Regions from separate parts of the Homo sapiens genome. Here all the other regions are linked to region 1. Evidence: promoter capture Hi-C in 16 types of primary human blood cells and fetal thymus (Javierre and others, 2016). All regions are on one chromosome and are shown on one strand. The core of a region is centred on a gene start or on the middle of the fragment in contact, and the rest is flanking DNA. Distances in the headings are between cores, read along the strand shown.

What was found. Contacts are between HindIII fragments. The CHiCAGO score rates a contact against its expected background, and 5 or more counts as called.
Region 2: a fragment that was not itself captured here is called in contact with the fragment with the promoter of ERLIN2 in region 1 in 1 of 17 cell types (endothelial precursors); the score reaches 7.2 in endothelial precursors.
Region 3: a contact is called between a fragment that was not itself captured here and the fragment with the promoter of ERLIN2 in region 1, in 2 of 17 cell types (M1 macrophages and M0 macrophages). The highest score is 6.0, in M1 macrophages.
Region 4: a contact is called between a fragment that was not itself captured here and the fragment with the promoter of ERLIN2 in region 1, in 5 of 17 cell types (M0 macrophages, M2 macrophages, endothelial precursors and 2 more). The highest score is 11.2, in M0 macrophages.
Region 5: a fragment that was not itself captured here is called in contact with the fragment with the promoter of ERLIN2 in region 1 in 3 of 17 cell types (M2 macrophages, M0 macrophages and M1 macrophages); the score reaches 11.1 in M2 macrophages.
Region 6: a contact is called between a fragment that was not itself captured here and the fragment with the promoter of ERLIN2 in region 1, in 3 of 17 cell types (M0 macrophages, M1 macrophages and M2 macrophages). The highest score is 6.2, in M0 macrophages.
Region 7: a fragment that was not itself captured here is called in contact with the fragment with the promoter of ERLIN2 in region 1 in 2 of 17 cell types (megakaryocytes and M1 macrophages); the score reaches 5.4 in megakaryocytes.

The regions. Positions count from the first base shown.
Region 1 is chr8:37,735,279-37,737,978 of GRCh38, forward strand. ERLIN2 (ER lipid raft associated 2) reads left to right here and starts at 1,356. Exons shown (of 12, transcript NM_007175.8): 1 at 1,356-1,400; 2 at 2,630-2,700. The coding sequence starts at 2,645. It overlaps LOC102723701 (a long non-coding RNA gene), which reads right to left and starts at 2,148. Exons shown (of 2, transcript NR_125821.1): 1 at 2,101-2,148; 2 at 1-1,520. RefSeq lists enhancers at 1,229-1,438, 1,918-2,700. The HindIII fragment of the contact is 8,102 bases long and covers 1-2,700 here.
Region 2 is chr8:37,142,005-37,144,704 of GRCh38, forward strand. No RefSeq gene overlaps it. Among named protein-coding and RNA genes, the nearest start is that of KCNU1, 360 kb to the left of the region's middle. RefSeq lists an enhancer at 744-1,943. The HindIII fragment of the contact is 1,248 bases long and covers 766-2,013 here.
Region 3 is chr8:37,195,112-37,197,811 of GRCh38, forward strand. No RefSeq gene overlaps it. Among named protein-coding and RNA genes, the nearest start is that of LINC01605, 400 kb to the right of the region's middle. The HindIII fragment of the contact is 299 bases long and covers 1,147-1,445 here.
Region 4 is chr8:36,853,290-36,855,989 of GRCh38, forward strand. The region is part of intron 18 of KCNU1 (potassium calcium-activated channel subfamily U member 1); the gene reads left to right. Among named protein-coding and RNA genes, the nearest start is that of KCNU1, 70 kb to the left of the region's middle. The HindIII fragment of the contact is 703 bases long and covers 943-1,645 here.
Region 5 is chr8:37,178,722-37,181,421 of GRCh38, forward strand. No RefSeq gene overlaps it. Among named protein-coding and RNA genes, the nearest start is that of KCNU1, 400 kb to the left of the region's middle. The HindIII fragment of the contact is 1,091 bases long and covers 718-1,808 here.
Region 6 is chr8:37,159,467-37,162,166 of GRCh38, forward strand. No RefSeq gene overlaps it. Among named protein-coding and RNA genes, the nearest start is that of KCNU1, 380 kb to the left of the region's middle. The HindIII fragment of the contact is 5,502 bases long and covers 1-2,700 here.
Region 7 is chr8:36,870,002-36,872,701 of GRCh38, forward strand. The region is part of intron 19 of KCNU1 (potassium calcium-activated channel subfamily U member 1); the gene reads left to right. Among named protein-coding and RNA genes, the nearest start is that of KCNU1, 87 kb to the left of the region's middle. The HindIII fragment of the contact is 1,273 bases long and covers 687-1,959 here.

The sequences.
Region 1 (2,700 bases), core at 106-2,605:
CCTTTTCCTGAGTCTTAAATCTGTCTAACACCACCAGCTTGCCATCTTCCCGGTGTAAAAGTTTTTCTTTTACTGAAGGCTATAATTAAGTGGACTCTTTCTCTCCTGCAAACAAAATATTAATAACCTCAGTGGCTGAATTAGAAATGCCCCAATGTGATGCTGGTGAATAGGGCAGGTGGAGGACAACGTGAGGCCCTTAGACTAGGAGACACAAACTCTGGATTCCGGGCCTGGTCCCACGTTGCCTTCAGTCTGTTTTTACTGGGCACCTAAGCCCCGGGGGTGCGGAAGGAAAGTCAGTCTCTGCTCTCCCGGGAACGTACAGTTTATCTAGAAAGACGAAGTGCACTAGCCCCTGTGCACTGTGGCAGGAGTTTAAAAAGCAGTGAACTCAAGATATTAAGGAAACACAAAGGAAACTTTCCTTGGCTTTTACCCTTGAACCTCGCTGAACTTCTTAGATTCCGTTCATTAAAATTAGAATAATAATTCCTTGTTAATATACTTTGTGGCGTTGCAGGATCCCAAGGGCCAAAGCTCCCAGAAAAATATAAAGAACAACTCAAGGTAGGGATTTTTGATTGGTGAGGTAATGATGCTAATCTGTACATTGAAAAGACTGTTTCATTTCAGCTGTGCTATAGGAAAGCAAACAGTTGCAACTCGCCAGTACCTTATCAAGGAGAGAAAAAAAAAAAGGCCGCGCATGGTGGCTCATGCCTGTAATCCCAGCAGTTTGGGAGGCCGAGGCAGGAGGATTGCTTGAAGCCAGAGTTTGAGACCAGAAATACCAAGACCCTGTCTTTACTAAAAATAAAATTGTCAAGTGTCGTGGCGTGCGCCTGTGGTCCCAGCTACTCAGCAGGGTGAGGTGGGAGGATCGCTTAAGCCCAGGAGTTCGAGGCTGTAGTGAGCTATGATCGTGCCACTGCACTCCAGCCTGGGCAAAAGAGCGAGACCTTGTCTCTAAAAAAACCAAAACGAACCAGGTTCGGCCTAATGCAGAAGGAAATCCGGAGCAATCCCCAAAGTCAACGCCTTGGAAAGGTTCGCCCTGGGTCTCAGTACTCCGGGGCATGCGCGTCCTGCCGCTCGCTCTCGGGGAGCTCCCACCAACACCGCCCTCATCCCCAGCCCCAGGACGGATACCCAAGACCGAGGTCCAGGACCGCACCGACCAAGTCGCGGGCGATCCCTGGCGGCCAGCTACGGCCATTGACCGCTGGGAGCGCGAGGGGCGGGGCGCAGAGCGAGCGCGGGGCGGGGGTGTGGTCTTCTCGCGTGAATTGATGGCGTCATCGAAGCGACGGCCCGGAAGGAAGTCGCGTGCTGAGGGGTGTGACGGTTTTCTTGCTCGTGGGCTCGGACGAGTACGGAGCGCCTGCAGGGACAGCCTGGTACGCGGCCCCCGCCCCTTCGTGCGCGCGCTGGGCCTAGCTGCCGCTCAGGGTCGGGGCTGACCCGTCACTTTCGGGAACCTCAGTCCCAGCAGCTTCTCTCCCTCAGCCGGCCCGCTCCTGGAGAGAGACAGAAACCCTTTTCTGTCGCGTCCTCTCCTTGCGAGCCGCAGGGGGACCGAGCGGAGGCTATTGGAGCCGCAGCCCCAGACCAGGGCGCTTGACCCTCTCTCGGAACGGGGCGGGGAAGGGGCGCGAGTGACCTCGGGGAGGGAAGGGCACTGGCAGGAAAGGACGCAACTGCAGATCGGTAGCCGGAGGCCGCCACGGTAAAATAAGCGCCTCGCAGATGTCCGCGCCCCGGTTACGTTAGACCTGGGAGGCAGAATCCACGCCCTGCGCTCACGGGCCCACGCACGCACAGCTGAACTTTGCAGTCAGTCACCATAGTTCCAGATCATTCAGCGTTCAGGATCCCACTCCTCCGCGTCCTGGTGCCTGAACGCGGTTGGACCTAGGAGCCTAGAGGCTCGCAGTTTGGGACATTGCCTTTCTCTCTGACCACGGGCTTGGGGATCTGTCAGGTGCAAAGTGCCAAAGTATATGGGGGGGAGTGTGGCTTCAGGCTTGTTCAGAGCCCTGTCCTGTTTAGGGCCAAAGGAATAACTGGGAAGGTGGATGCGAGGCCAACGAATCCTACCTTGAAACTCTGCTCGCCTGCTGGCTCTGCCACTCCAGCATCTGAAAGGAGTAAATAATGGTTTCCTTTGAAACTGCAGGCAATTAGGAGTGGGAGACTCTGACCAGAATTACATAGCCACAACTGCCTGTCATTTGGCATCCTCTGTAATTTGGGCCAAAGTACTGCAGCTGCCTCTCTTCCCTACTACTGGTAGGAAAGGTTCAGTGACAGCACATTCGTGTTCACAGGAAGACAAGGCTGTGTTCTGAACCCTACCCAGCTGGCACGGGTTCTCCCTTGAGCAACGGCTGTATCCGGAGCCAGTGCTTCCTCAGTGCGGTGGGGGCTCTAATTTTACAGTTAAAGAAAGGGGAACGTTGACTGAGAACGAGGAGGAAGCGAGTTGTAGATCTAGCCTTGTGTTCACACGACACCAGGCTGGATATGAGTCACTCGCAGGGAGCTCAGCTTGGTGAGGTCCTCTCGCTGTTGTGGCCTTTTCTCCTGCACGTTGGACCACACACATTTTCCCGTGTCTTTTCCCTAGGATAAAGGCTCACTGATGGCTCAGTTGGGAGCAGTTGTGGCTGTGGCTTCCAGTTTCTTTTGTGCATCTCT
Region 2 (2,700 bases), core at 140-2,639, 590 kb before region 1:
CAGATGCCATGAGCTGAAGCCAGGAACTAAACGTGAAAAAAAATATTTTATTAATTTTTTTTGTTTTTCTCTTAATTCATTCCCCAGCCTGGTCAAGTCACTGACATATTTTATCCAGCCTTCAAGAAGACAGAGTATGTATTCATCAAAGGGAATTCATGCTAGAATCCTGTACTTTCCTATGGGTCAGGACTGCCAACAACAACAACAACAACAAAAGTCATGTATATTCCAGTTAATAAACATTTAATTTCATATAATATAAAATCATATACTGTTTTCTTTCTCTTTATTTCACTTGATGTCTGAGATTGGTGTTTCCATGGTATATACAGATAAATGAGCAAAGCTTATGGGTTCATCTCACAAATGTCTAATTTCAGTGTTGAAATTAGACCCCATGATGTTGGGGGTCAAGATCATGGCAAACAGCAGTGAAAAAAATCTGGCCAACAAGGCATCCAGAAACAACTCCTGTCACCCGTATTCTCAACCTAGCTGAAGGGACGTGGACTATATGACTCCACGATTCTCTTGCCTTTGTCGGGAATCCCAGCAGTTGGGAACACGCAGATAAATATTAAATATGACCTAGTCGTCACAGTGACCTCTGTGGCAGTGAAGGGAGATCTATTACTTCAGCCTCTCTAACAGAAGCTTGCAACCTTGATCTGTTTGTCCGCCTGTCTGTCCAGCTGTCTGTCTCTGTCCCACCACTTTCTAGGCTGTGATTGGGTCCAGGGATTACAGCGGCTCTGGGTGGGAAGCTTGTAAATGACAAGTAACAGATGCTCTGCCAAAAAAGTGATCATACCAGAAATGGACTAAGTTAAACCAGACTACATCCACCCACCCCATCTCACCATGACCCCACACCTCAGGAAGGAGGAACGCCTTAGAAGGCTTTGTATAAACGAAGACAGGGCTGTGCACACTTCCCACTCAATGACTCATGCATCATGGAATTAGAGGCCCCAACCATGCACTCATAAACAGCAAATGGAAAACAAACACACTGAGCACGCCCACAAGTGTCGTTTCCTTCCTCCTCCCCGCCTCACCTACACACTCCCACCATCCAGGCCCCAGGCCTCTGTGCTGCAAAGTCCAACCGGGGGGACTCTGTGAATGCTGGGATGATTAACGCAAGCTGGCTGCAAGAAGGAGACCCCCAGGATGAGGGATGCCACTGGATCTGAGATTGCCCTGGGACTCAGGATTTTTCCCACACAGGGAGATCATCAGAGAGAAACCTCCTCTTTGCGTCAACTACAATCACAGACAACTTTTTCATTATATGACACATAGACATGGTATGCTTGCAGCCATAATGACATATAATCCCTAAAACATTTTTATGAGGTGAGTGGTATTAGCCTCACTTTACAGGAAATGAATGAAACCTAGGCTCAGAGATAGGCTGGAGGCCACACAGCACTGAGGGATGATCTGCCTCCAGAAGAAAAGAATTTCCACTACTCCATGGGAGAAAAGGCAAATTTGTCTGAGTGCAAACTCACATCATATCAGCCTCTCTGACCCACTCAGGACTGCTTCCCAGTCAATGGTCAAGGAAACAGGCAGGAGCCTCCACCTCCTACATCTACCCCACGCCTGCCTTAAATATTCTCAGGAAGCCAAGAATTCACTTCCCTTCCCTCCACCCAGGCAGGCAGGGCCTATATTGGGCTGGAATGCGAAGGTAGCCAGGGAAACAGAGCCCATGGCTAGACGTTATCAAGGGCCTGCGGCCTGCATGGCTCCTTAAGAGAAACAGGATGGGTGGAAGATGTTCATTATTCAGATCCTCATTAACAAAATTATACTTACCTTGAACCTGCTCCTGCAGAAAACAGACTGGGATGGAGTCCATTGCCTCACCTTTCCCCAAGCAATGATGCTCAAATGGAGGTGGCAGGCCTCCTCTCTGTCTCATTCCCCATCTCTCTATTCCAATCCCGCTCTTACTATGTGAATAAAAGATGGCCTCATCTAAAAAGAAAGAAAAGAACAAGCTTAGGGAAGAAAATATCTAAAATAAAAGGATTCATCCCAGCAAGAATACCTGGAAGCCTCATGGCTAGCAATGCTTTAAAGAGAAACAAACTTTTATTATTCAGTTAACAAATGAAAGCTTTAAGTCTTAGCAATGTACTGGCCAGGAGGGAATGTGAAGATGAAGAAGATACTTTGCTTGTCCTTAAAGAGTCCTACTGGGTGTTTCTCAGTGCCTTCCAGGGACAGTTGCTGCACACTCATCACACACTGACACGCGCCCTCTGCCTTGACTGTTAGAACTGGAGCCAGAAACACAAATATGTGGATTCTGGAACTGGAGTCAGAAAAAAATGTGGAATACAGAATTCTCACAAGGCCCCTTTTGGCGTTATTCTCTAAGCCAACATGGCACCAAATTCCTGGAAACTGCTCCAGAGTACCTTCTCCTACACCCTTACTTAATTTGCCAAAACCCTGTGGCACATCAGAATCTGCCATGGGGTTTTGCAGAGGCTGAGTAGTGGGCTGAACTCCCCATTGCACTCTGACCAGATAGTACAGCCCCTTCTTCATCTATCAGTTAGACTCAGAAAGCCGTCATGTTGAATTTGGAGGAACGGTTTTCCCCTGGCAAAATAGAAACCACTTTTGAAAACCACTGAAGAGGTTATCTGAGCTATTTTCCAGCTCTGATATTTAGTG
Region 3 (2,700 bases), core at 46-2,545, 540 kb before region 1:
TTAGTAAACAGGTAAATGACAATAGAAATAGCAGACAAGAAAAAGCTAAACTACATTGGCAGCACGGGAGAGCCTCAAGAACCAGCCACTTCACAGCATAGTCCCAGAAGGCTCAGGAATTGGAGGTACCAAATGCCTCTGCAGCAAGGGTGCAGAGCAGGGCTATCCATATAAGGACTGGTTAAAAGTCTTTAAAAGAAGGAGTCAGGCTCACAGACGCCCTCTTCTACCCATGTAGCCAGGTGGCCCTCTTTGCTCCAGTAGGAGTCTAAAGGATTACTCCATAGCAGTGGTTTTCAAAGTGGGGACCTGAGACCAGCAGGGTTAGTATTACCTGGGAACTGGCTAGAAAGGTACATTTTCAGGCCTCACCCCAGACCTGCTGAATCGGACACTCTAAAATGGGGCTCACCAATCTGTGTTTCAATAAGCCCTCTCTAGATGATTCTGATGCAAGCTAAAGTCTGGGAACTACTGCTCTAAGTAGAGATTGAGCCAGACAGGGTCTGACACCGAGGACAACAGCAGTTGCTGAAAACATAATGAACCAATTATTAAAGAGAGGGGAAATTGACACACAGAACATTAAGCCCTCCAGTGCACATCTTCTCAGCTCCCAAAATGTTCACGGCTGTTGTGATTTCTATGGTTATGGTTTGTTCTAATTTGTCTTGAGGTGTCTCTCTCTTAAGAGTGGCCATAAGCCAAGATAGCCACTCTGCAGGAGACTGCTGACAGAGGGGAAAGTTAGGTTTATGTGTGTATCAGGTAAGACACAATAAGGAGGTGAAACTAAAATGCATGAAACAGAAGAAATGTATTATTCACAGGTCAGAGAGACTTGGTGCCCAAGGCAGGCCAGTGTGAAGTCTGGAGACAGCAGGGAGATCACCCACTGAGCAAGTCAGTGAGCCTGTCGGGGCCACCTTCATCAAAGCCCATGGGTATTACCCTTCAGGCTTCCCTAAGGGGGCTGTGAATTGGCTAGTTTATGGAAAACACTCCAGAGGGGAAAAACTTATTTACATGATCTGGTATTGACCATTAGGTTTTATTGTGATCAGCAGCTGAGGGGTGTGTTGGGTTTGGGGTCAATGAGATGAAGAACAAGAGGGTTATATCACAAACAACCACATAGGGAGGGGAAGCTTTAACTAGGCCAAAGGTGGCAGGGTAGAAATGGGTTTCAGATAACGTATGTCAGCCTAGAAATGGGTGCAGAGGCAGCAACTACATTAAACACATTTATGACAGCAGCTAAGCTGACATACCTGATGCAGGATACTTAAGGATTCTCCCCTGGGAAACTGATGGGCCTAAGAGAAAATATCTGTGGTTAGTGACATTAAGGGAGGGGAGGGGATCCCCACATGAAATGGCTGGGTCCTAGCCCAATCAGCCTGCAAGCAAAGCCCCAAACCAAGAGGCCTCCTTCTGGGAAACAAAGCTTCCAAGCAACCCCGCCTTCATTACAAACTGACATGCAGTGATTACTAGACCTGTGGGGAACTCCTAACACATGAAAGAAAAAGACCAAAACAAAAACAAGCAAGCAAAACAGAAACAAGAAACTTGTTATAAATGAAGGCAATGCAGACAAGAGGAGAAAATTTGAAAAGAAAATTTAAACTCTGGTTAATCATTTCAAAAGGATAAAAGAAGATGTGCCTTCATGAAACAGGATCAGGGAACTCTTCAAAAATGAGGATGTTGAAATCAGTCCTCAGATCTTGACCATATAGCAAACCAGTTCAGGCTGTTGGTTCCTCCCTTCAATATCAACCTGAGAAATGAAAAACCCAGTGGTTCTCATTACTTCACATGCATGGGAATTACTTGGAAGGCTTGTTAAGCTAAGTTGGCTGGGTCTCACCCTCCATCAGCAGGAGAATATCAGGAAAGTGCGAAAGTGTTGTTGGGGTGAAGAGTGAGGAAAATAGGGGTTGACCAAGCAACTATTTTGGGTATTTACTCTCCGCCCAGGAATTCCTTGTTCTGAGAATTTAAAGCAAAACCCTGGTCAGAGAAAGTACCTAATAAGAGTGGGGGCAATTTTGAGTGACCAGCAATAATTCTGTAGGGTTTAACTGTCTTTACCACCTGGGGTTCATCATCTACCATCTCTTTAAACCCAGTGAGTAAAACACAGTCTACATGACATCAGTTCTTCCCCAAAGGGAAATATCCCCAAAGGAACTTGAGCCTACATGCCAGAATAACCACTCAAGGAGTACAACCACTCAAGGAGTACAACCACTCAAAAGAAAGGCAACTAAATAAAAAATGTCGACCATCTAAAGCCAAATGATTAGCTTAAGCAGATCAATAATTTAAATAGGCTTACCAAATAAAGATATAAGGGATAATATAAGCATAAAGAAAGAACCAAGTGGAAATATTATAGATGATAATGGAAATAAAGAATCAAATATTCAGCAATTTACATGATGGATAGAGCAAAAAAAAAAAAAAGAAAAAGAATTAAGGAGTTGTAAAATGTAACAGAAGAGCTTTTCCTGAAAGGAGCAGGAGATGGAAAACAATTTTTTAAAGTTAAGAAACTTGTCTAAAAGAAGGGTCAATAACAGTAAATAAGAATGAGGGGATAACACAGGAAGAAAATAAATAAATAAATTTTTGAATTCTCTCTTTTTTTTCTTTTTTTTTTTTGAGACGGAGTTTTGCTCTGTCACCCAGGCT
Region 4 (2,700 bases), core at 44-2,543, 880 kb before region 1:
CAGTGAGCCAAGATCATGCTACTGCATTCCAAGCTGGTTGACAGAGCAAGACTTCTCTCAAAAAATAAATAAATAAATAAGTAGGCATTTATATCTAAAAATTTCCCTCTAAGCACCTTTAGAAGCATGGTGTATTTTTAATGTGTTATGTTTTTATTTTCATTAATTTAAAATACTTTATAATTTCCCTGTGTTTTCTGTTTTCTTTTTTGTATGTTTTTGACCCATTGTTAAGAAATGTGTTGTTTTTACTTTCACATATTTGTGAATTTTCCTAATTTTCTCTTTTATTGTATTCTTATTTAATTCCATTGAAGTTGGAAAGCATACTTTGTATGACAAATTCTTATAGTATTTTAAGACTTGCTCCATTGTCTAATACATGGTCTATCCTGGAGACTATTCAATGTATACTTGGGAAGATCATGTATTATTCTGTTGTTAGATGGAATGTTATATGGATGTCTGTTAAGTATAGTTGGTTTATAGGGTCGGTTAAGTATAGGTTGGTGTGTGTGTGTGTGATTTTTATTTCTTCCTGTGGATTTGAATTACTGCCTAATGTGCTTGTATTTCAAACTCAAGGAATCCCGTTAGTATTTATTGTAGGGTTTGTCATATGTGAACAAGATCTAAGTTCTTGTTAATCTTAAAAATGTCTTAATTTATCATTTATTTTTGGAGGATAGTTTTGCTAACTATTAAATTCTTTGTTGGCAGTTGTTTCTCATTCAGCGCTTTAAATATTTCATCCTACTTCTTTCTGGCCTCTATTGTTTCAGATTAGAAATAGCTTTCAATTTGATTGGTCATCCTTTCTACACGATGAGTCACTTCTGTCTTGCTGACTTGAAGACCCTCTGTCTTTGAGTCTTACATTTTTGATTATGACAGGTCTCCATGTGTCAATCTCTTTAAATTTATCCTACTAGGAGTTTATTAAGCTTTTTAGTTGTGTAGATTAATGTTTTTCAACCACTTTGAGAAGTTATTGGCCATTATTTCTCAAATATTCACTCTACTCCTTTCTTTACTCTTCTCCTGGATCTTTCATTAAATCCTTTGGTACACTTGATAATGTCCCAGCGGTCCCTTAGGCTGTCTTCATTTTTCTTAATTCCTTTTTTCTTCTGTCCCTCAAACTGTATAATCTTCATTCACCTATCTTTGAGTATGCTGATTCTTTTTTTTTTTTTTGCATGCTCAAGTCTGATCTTTAGTTCCTCTTGTAAAGTTTTTATTTTAGTTCTTGTACTTTGAACTCCAAGATTTCTACTTAAAAAAATTTGTAACTATTTAATGACATTCTCTATTTTGTGAGACATCATTCTCATATTCCTTTTGGTTATTTATATATAGGTTTTTAAAGCTCTTCAAATATATTTAAATTAGCTGATTTTAAAAGTCTTTGACTAGTAAGTACAATATCTGAGCTTCTCTCAAGGATGGTGTCTATTGAGAGCCTTTTTCCTATGTATTTTTATCTTGCTTGTTTCTTTCCAAGTCTTATAACTTTTTGTTGAAAATTAGACATTACACAGGTTATAGTGTGTTATTTATGGAAATCAGATTCTCCAGTAGACTTTCCCAAAGTCTATCTCTCTGTCATTTGTGGCCATTGAATTTTCTACTCAACTTAGTGGTAAGCTTATAATTGGACAATGATTTTTGTTAAACACCTGGAACCAAGAAGTTTCTCAGTCTTTGTCAAAGGATTCTGTGTTTGTGTTGGGGCATGCCTTCAATAGTCAGCTGTAAAGTTGACAACTGTGTTTAGCCTTCATTTTCTGCTTGTATGAAACCTCAAGGTCAGTTAGAGATGAGAGCTTTGGAACTTCTCAGGCCTTTCTGCTTATGCATACAGCTTTACACAGTTCTGGGCATCTTCATTGTCATTTAGATTTCCAGTAATATTCCAGAGTTTTTCAAAGTCCCTTATAAGTAAGAAGACATTTTATTCTTCAGTTTTCCTTTTATGCTTTCATTTGGTCTTCAATTTGCCCTGCTATCTGTTGCCTCAGGCACATGTGACGTTAATATATTTGATAACACTCCCTGGGGATAGGCTTGTAGCACTAGATACATGCAAATGAGGCTGAAAAAGAAAAGCCATTCAAGTAGGGTTATGCAGGGAACCACCAGACAAGTCAAAATAATGACTCTTCTTTGGAAATAAGGCTTTTGAAGAACTGTATTTCTGCTGTACTCCCTCTAGTGCCAAGAATATGGAGTATTATGTTTTGAAAGCTATCGATGAGCTGTGGAGCTGGAGATGAAACTAGTGTAAATTAAAATAACACAAATCTTATATCTCTTACTGCTATCTATTTATTTCTCTCGACTAAATGTTTTCAAGGCTCCTGTTGGTTAGTTTCCAGAGTTCTGAAAAAAAAATAATTCTCACAAGTTTTGCCAGTTTATTCTATTTTTATGGAGGGGCGGCCTATCTCGTGTCCTTCCTCTACCTTTTATTTTATTTTTTTTCTGGTATCTTGTCTTCATTTTTTAAAGATAGTTTTCCTGGGTATAAAATTCTTGGTTGGCAGTTTATTTCAGCACTTTTCAATGACATCTTATTGCCTTCTAACCTCCATTTTTTCTGATAAGAAGTCAGCTGTTTCACATGTAAACCACATTTTTCTCGTGCTGGTTTCAAGATTTTTTGTGATGTAGGGCACAATTTAGTCCACAACAGTCACA
Region 5 (2,700 bases), core at 13-2,512, 560 kb before region 1:
GGAGGGAACAGGACTTAGCATGAGGAATAATTGGAGCTTAGCACAAATGCTCAGGAGTGTGGAGTAGACCAGTGCTCAGTGAAGGAGGAGGGGGTCCACGCACACGGGGTCTGGGGAGGTTGATGGTGGGCAGAGCTTGGCAGAAAGGAGAGGTGAGGGCATCTCCCAGTGAGCACAGACTCACAGACAAGAAAGGGCACGATGTAACCCTCCCCTACCATTGATTGCTTCTGGAACTCTATCACTAATGCCCACTGTAGGCACAAATCACACAAAACACCATGTCAACACTCACTCATGCAGCTCATACTTTATCTGCAAAGGTTGACATGAAGAACTGTATTCTCCAGTCTCCTAAGAAAAGACACCTGTGGGTCCCCTGTAGAACACAGGGGGATGAGACGTCAGGCAGCCCAGTGGTCTCCACTTGTACTCATCTCTATAGTGTTGTTTTACCTGTATCACAGCACCTTAGGGAGGGGGTTCCAGGAACAGGAAAGCTAGCAAAGACTGTCTCCTATCCCAGGCACCTCCCTCCCATCTGATGACATGCAGAAGATACCCCCTTCCTTGAAGGGCCAACCAGCCTCTGCTTACCACGTTTGAGAATTAATTTTGTGACTGAGTGAATAAACCAAGGAACAAACAAAGAGACACAAAACTGTTCTTTTCTCTGCTGAGAGCGTAGGACTTGGCAGTCCTTTTGTTAGAGAGGGAAGCTTCGTCCCACGTGATTTCGCTAAGCCTTCGCCCCAAGATACTTCCTCTCCTGCCTCCAACACACAAAACCCCTTTTTCCTAGGGGAGCCAAACCAAAGAACCCCACATATTCTGAAGCCCCAGATGTGGTTTCACAGCCACACCAAACAAGGAGCCTTTGGAAGGGGTGGCCCTGAGAAACCAGACCAGGCTCTTCTCGAAGCATATTTGCCTCCTTTGGTCTCCAGAGATTGATTTCCACTTTGCAAGGAGTCATTATAAAAACCTCGGGATGGTCAAAAGGGGTTCTGACCTCCACTGGGTATGGGGACAACAGTGGGTGGGGTGGCCACAGAAAGGACGTAATATAGCTCCCTGGGGAGTGCTCACCCCTCTCCCTCCCCTTTCCCCCTCTGGCTTCTCTTCCCTCCTGTCTCCTCTCCCTCCCTCTTCTTTCTTCTTCTCTCTCCCCCTCCCCCCACTTGCCTATCCCCCCCAGCCTCTCTCTCTCTCTCTCTCTCTATTTCTCTCTCTCCCTCCCTCTCTCTCTCTCAGGCCTGCCATGCAGCAGCAGGGGTCACTGTGCACCAGCGGGAGGAGCCCAGCTCACAGCTCCATGCAGGACCAGCATCAGGATGAACTCCTGGCCCTGGCCCTGCCTGCAGACAGGAGGCCAAGGCCAGGCCATCATGCTGGTGCTGTCTGTCTCCCTATGCCTCCAGAAGTAATTACCTTTGCAGAAAAGGGACTGCAAAAATAATCCTGTAGACATCATGCGAGGACAGGTAAGACAGAGCGCTCTGCAACCTAAGCACACATCTGATCATAGAGGTAAACGAACCAGAGATAAATAAAACTCATCCTCAACCACTCACGAAGTACCCTCTGACCCCTGCTGTGGCATCTTAACCCACACCATGTCCTGAACATCCTTTCTCGAATGTTTGCTCTTGACCCAGTCAGCTCCTTCTAAGGCAAGGATTCCCTTTGATGAGGGTTCCAGCCCCCAAGGTCACGCACCACAAGGCTGGGAGGGTCCTCAGAGACCAGCACCCGCCCAGTAGTTTTAGTCCTGGATTCATGAGGGCTCCCAGGCCCTGGGTCTCAGAAGCTTCTGAGGTGGGAGAGATAGAACCCTGGGAGTGGGCCAGGTCTCTGCCAGAGATTGATTCAAGTGAATTTGGGTTTCCCAATATTTCATTTTTTAAGCCTCCTTCTGTTCATGCAAAACAAAACAAGCAAAAATTGAAAAACACTGTCCTAGCTCAACAATTTCCCATGTGGATAGAAGTTTCAGGGAGTTCAGCACCCTTCCCATTATCACACAGCCTGTGTTGGCCACCTGGTCCGTCAAGGTGGAGGGGAGCAGGGCAGGTGGAGTGAACTCAGGAGAGGAAAATCAAACAGAATGGCAGCCCAGGAGCCCCAGAGGGGCAGAGAGCCAGGTTAGAGGCATACACATGGGTGCTTCTGGGCTCCCTTGAAGCAGGCCACCCTCGGCCCCCAACCTGGCCCACACTCTCTCCGCACCTCCGTCTGTCCTCCTGCCCGCATCATGAGTGCCTGCCGTTATATTTGCCATCCACTGGGTGTCCTGCAAGCAGTGACTGTGGACACGGTGCAGAGATGTTCGTGGTGGGTTCTAAGTGATACAGGCTTCTGCCTGAGCAGGATCTCAGCTGCTGGAAGCCCCAGTAAGACTAATGGGCAAGGTAAATTATTTTCTCTTCTGCTGAAGCACAATTTTCTATCCATTTCCTCCTTTTGACGTGTACAGTAGGATAAAAAGAGAGGAGGAGGAAGGCAAGGGGGGAGAAGGGAATGGAAAACACTTAGACTTTCAATGGAGGCTCATTTTGGTAAAGTAACCCAGCGTCCCCATGGACCTAGAGAATTAAATGCTGTCACTCAGATCTGAAAGCAGAGTCATCCAGTTTGCAGACACCTGTCATAATTAAACTAATGGCTCTGAAAATGTGCCTTGATATTAAATCTATCTTC
Region 6 (2,700 bases), core at 117-2,616, 580 kb before region 1:
AGAAAGTGTAAATACATGTGTTAAATTTTTAGTGAACCAACAAATGAATGAATGAATAAGAGCAAATTCAGGATGGATCCTTAAACAGAGTGGATTCTGAATAAGACAGCCAGCACTATTCCATACCCAACACCTCTGCTTACTATACAGATATGGAGACAAAATATGTGAAAACTCAACAAATATTTATTGGGGCCTACTCTGAGCCAGAAACTGTCTGGGCTGGAATATAAAACAGTGAGTAAAAATGGGGAAAGTACTGGCTCCATGGCGTCACATCCCAGAGGGGTGACAGTAACTGAATCAGTTTAACACACAAATGCAACCATTTCAGAGAGTGAGGAAGACAATCCCTAATTTGGGGGATGGGAGTGGTAACGGGAAGGCAGGACAATGTAGGACAGGCAGCCAGGGAACTCCCCATGAAGGAGGTCACATCTGAGTTGAGGTCTTAATGGGGATCAGATACTCTACCTCCCAATTCTATCAATATTTAGGTCCAAATCTTCTTTTCCAGAAAGTCACTCCAAACACTTGCTTTCCAGTCTGGGCAACAAAGTGAAACTGATTCTACAAAATGTTTTAAAAATTAGTCAGGCATAGTGGCACATGCCTATAGTACCAGCTACTCCAGAGGCTGAGGTGGGAGGATCACTTGAGCCCAGGACATCAGGGCTGCCGTCAACTATGATTGCACCGCTGCATTCCAGCCTAGGCAACAGAGAAAGACCCTGTCTCTTAAAAAAAATAAATGCTTAGTGCAATTATTTCTGTATATGGATGATGGATGATGAATTTAACATTAGAATCTCAACTCAAATAAATGATGTACAATAATTATGAGAAACAAAAACAAAATACTATTTCCAGGAGAAGCACATCTCTGGGCATCCGCACATGCCCACGTGAGCAGGTCACATTCCAAACTCTTCAGCACCCCTGGAGAAACAGGACCAACAGCCCTGTCCCCTGCAGAAGTCCTGTGCAAACCACCACGCCTCCCAGAGTCACATTCTGATGAGGAAATCAGTAGCAGAAAATGCTCCCAACGGGAACCCCTTCTGTTTTGCTGATCTTGTAAATCATCTGAATTCAACGTGTCACAGGCATGTCTTACAATACACAAGATAATGCCCAGATTTTGTAGTGCAAAAGCATATTAACCTTTGTGGACTCTAGCAGGGTTCCGACAAAGAATGTCTGGTAAAAACTGCAGGGCTCATGGTAATTGCTTGCCATGCCGGTAAACGATCCAGAGCTGTGTGAAGATAACAAGAAACTGCTGAAGGCAAGTCACCTGGGTTTTATTATGCTCACCCTAAAAAATAATTAGCAATGCCTATGAAATCATACTGTGAGGAGTTTGTAGGGCTTTTTTTTCCAAGAAGGAAATTATAACCTACCTAGCTTTCCTTTGTACAAGGAGATTTAGGGGCTGTGTGTGTGTGCGTTTCCCTGACAAGCAAAGATAAATGGAAAAGTTGATGTTAAAAAAAATACCATGTCAGAAGCAACGAGAGGAGTGCTCATTGTAAACACAGCTGTTACCCCCACTCTGTCCAAGCCAGGACAAAGCCACACCCAGGAAGCTGACCCCCAAATCCTCTATGCTGCTGTGTGAAGGTGGCATCTTTGAGAAATATAACTTCTGTTTAGTTAATAAAATGTACGTTTATGCCCTAGTATATGCATATTCCATCCCCTTTTGACCGGGAAAAAAAAAAAACAATGAAAAATGTTTTCTAACTCTTCAGCGCCCACTTCCAAAATAAAGTGGGCCAGATGCTGAGACCTCACATTGCTTGGTGGCCTTGGCTTGCCCAAGGGGACTGGAAATTGTACCCAATCTTGCATAAGAGAGAAAGTTCTACCCGAAGCCTGAGCAAACCTCAAGACCAGAGGAGGCCACCAGAGCTTCTGCAAGAGGCCCGAGTGTCCCACAGGAGTCCTCAGCACTGCACACCTCAGTCCCCCTGAACTGTCCAAGGCCACCAAGCAACCCGAGGCCTCAGCATCTGGCCAGGTTCATTTTGGGAGTGGGCATTGGAGAGTTAGAAAATATTTTTCATTAGTTTTTTTCCCAGTCAAAGGGGGATGAAATACGCATATTCTAGAGCATAAACACACCTTGTATTAACTAAATGGAAGTAAAACACCACCTTCACAGAAACATGTTCATTTTCAGCACATAGACTAGATTGTCCTAGCAGTTCAGCAGGTTTTGAATCATGAGTTTGATGAGTAAAAGTCATGTTCAGATTGTTTATTCCCTGAAACTCCTGGACACTCAAATCTCCAGAGGAGAGGGTGGCTGCTTAGCACAGAAAGTGTCTGAACCTCATTGCTTTTTGCAAAGAAGGAAAGGAGCTGAGCTTTGGTTCCAGCACAGTAAGAGTGTGAGGCAGGAGAGGGCTGTCTCCTCCCTTGAGGTGGCCACAAGTTGCCTCTCTGTGGAAAGAGCTCACCCTCCAAACCAGGAGAATGGAGTGGTGTCTCATCTGCCAGGGCAGAGTTGGTCCACCTTAGGTAGTCCCTGTATTAGTCCGTTTTCATGCTGCTGATAAAGACATACCTGAGACTGGGCAATTTACAAAAGAAAGAGGTTTATTGGACTTACAGTTCCACATGGCTGGGGAGGCCTCACAATCATGATGGAAGGCAAGGAGGAACAAGTCACATCTTATGTGGATGGCAGCAGGC
Region 7 (2,700 bases), core at 73-2,572, 870 kb before region 1:
GCAGTAGTTACCATTGGTAAGGTCACTTTGCCATGTCCAAGTCGGCCTATAGCTTGCCATTCTCCCTCCAGAACATTCTTTTCCATGGCAATTCCAGCTCCTTCCTTGGCTATTTTCTAGTGCCTTCCAGTAATCCTATGGCAGTCTTTCATTTCCAACCAAACTGTAGTCCATCCAGAAGGACTGCCAGGATAGGCTTTGCCAAGCTGGAAGCTTGCTAGTAAGTAGTGCACTGGCCATAAAGATGTAAGAGGTTCAATCCAACTGGGATAAGTTGTTTGTTTCTTTTCTGGCACATCTATTTCCAGCCCTACATAATTTATGCTCACGCATGACTCCTGAGACACCTGTCCCTATGACCTCTTATTTTCATGCCCCCTCTGCCATACATACCCTGTTGTCTCAGGAAAAGAAGCTGAGCCCTTCCTCCCTTTTTACTCTCAGTTCTGTACACTTTATCGAATTCTGTGTTCCAAACTATTCAGGCAAGAGAATCCCCATCTTTTAGCCTCAATGATGTCTGAACTCCTACTGAGAGCCAGCCTCTGAGTCCACCTAGTGGGGGCAGAAGATCGGATACAAATCACCGTACATGGCTCTTTTCATGTCATATCTGAGCTTTCTACAGAAACTGATCAGATGAGATTATCTGAGCAATTCCTTTTATCCCTTCTTATTTTATATTAAGCTTTTAAAACTACTTTCCCTCCAGACAAGCATAGGCTTTCCTATTTGAGTGTAATGTAGCCCATAACTAGTAAATCAAAAGCATTCTCTGGTTCTTTCATTCATATAAGCCTACTGAGTGATGCCTTTACTGTAGCATTTCAAATCATGTTCTGGAAATCTACATTCACTTAACACTATATGGCCAGTATTTCATCTTTCAGAGTTACCTTTCCCCAAGAGTCCCATTGGCACTTATGTTTCCCATTCTATGGTTTTCCACCTGAGATTTTAGAACCTTTAAAATATGCTTTCTCTCATTTTAATTGATGGTATAATTTGGGACCACCAGAATCCCTAGCAGGGCTATGTGTCTGCAATGAAGTTTAATAAATATCTTCATCAGGTCTCAATAGCAAGACCAAAGAAGACAGCAGGACTAAATATATTCTCATATAATTATAGGGATAATCTAGAGGTAGGATTGAAAATATACATACACATATACATATAAAAACTATACTTTTAATCACAATGAGCCTGAGTTCCAAAGACAGATGAAAGAGTTAGGGTGGCAGGGAATATAAGAATAAGAATTTTGAAAAGATGACTAGATATTTTCCTTCAGATCCTCTAAATACCTCTTTTCTAGTTCTTATTTTGTATTCATAGGTGAAAATCCCATTTTTGGGAAGCAATGTGCCACAATCCTAGCAAAGTACCATATATATATATATATACATAGAGAGAGAGAGAGAGCGAGCAATAATTCATCAGGTATGTATTGAATAATCTGATTCTTTAGATTAACAAACAAAATTTTATTGTTATTGCTTAAAAATAGCAGAAAAATAGCTTCAGGCTTCTTAAAAGCATCAGAATTGTACCATAGAAAAGTCAGCATCTCTCTTCGTTACTGTCATCTCCCTCATCCTGCCTAGCTTCACAGACTATAATAAAGGAGAGACAAGGCATTTTGTAAATATCTTTGTGAGTCTGTGGACAGGTCTTTTAAAAAACTAAAAACAAATTCTCCTGGAATTACGGGTATGGAAATTGATTTGGCTGGGTGCTAAGATGAGGAAGTGGCCCTCAGATCATTGCGATAAAAATTACTATGGGATGACTGATCATTTACTGAGTGCATATATTTATTTGCATTAGTTAACTACTATTTGCATGCTTTTATTCTTCATTTCATTTATAATCTCCTAAAAGGCAGGAATGAGACCTTGTCTGTTTAGGGTCATATATAAAAGACCAACTCTATAAGACAAAGTGAAGGTTATGCGAAGCTTAGTCACTGTTTCTAAGTAAAACTCTCTTCAAGGCCTTGAGACATGACTTGCATAGTTTCCAAGAAAAAAAAATGTGAAGTAGGCAAATCGCACTGATTTTCACTTTGTGTTATTTGCCCTCTGAGTAACACCTTATCATCATCTTTCTCAGGGGCTCACAGTCCCCAGGTATTTAAATGTCCTCATCAACATCTATTATTTAAAACTTCATTTGCAAAAACAGAAGAATAAAATATTAACCCTTCTGGGGCAGCTTCCCTTTCATCATGGATCAGGGACTTCAGCTAAGGAACAAAGCCCTAACTAACAAATTTCAGGTGTCAACGTATAGGGGAGGTATAATTTTAGGCAACATCCAATAAGAGTCTTCTATGTACATCCAATACCACATCTCGAAGCCTATCGCATGCTATGCTATGTTAGCTTTTTGGCTTCAGAAAGAGAGATAAAGGGGGACGCCGCCCCGCCCTGTAACTATGGTGGGGGCTCCAGCAGTAAACTGTAGATTGTCAGATCACAGCTCTGTGATGTTCATGCTCTGTGACCATAAGCAAGTCACTTACTGTCCTGTGGCTCAGATCCCCCATCCAGTAAAATAAATAATACAATCTCATAGAAATGATGAGAAGATTAAGTATAAGACTTTGAGAGAAGTTCCCAGCATTGAGTAGTAAGCCTTCAATAAATGCTAGCAATTATCACTACACAAGAGTCAGGAGTTTCCCATAAAATAATT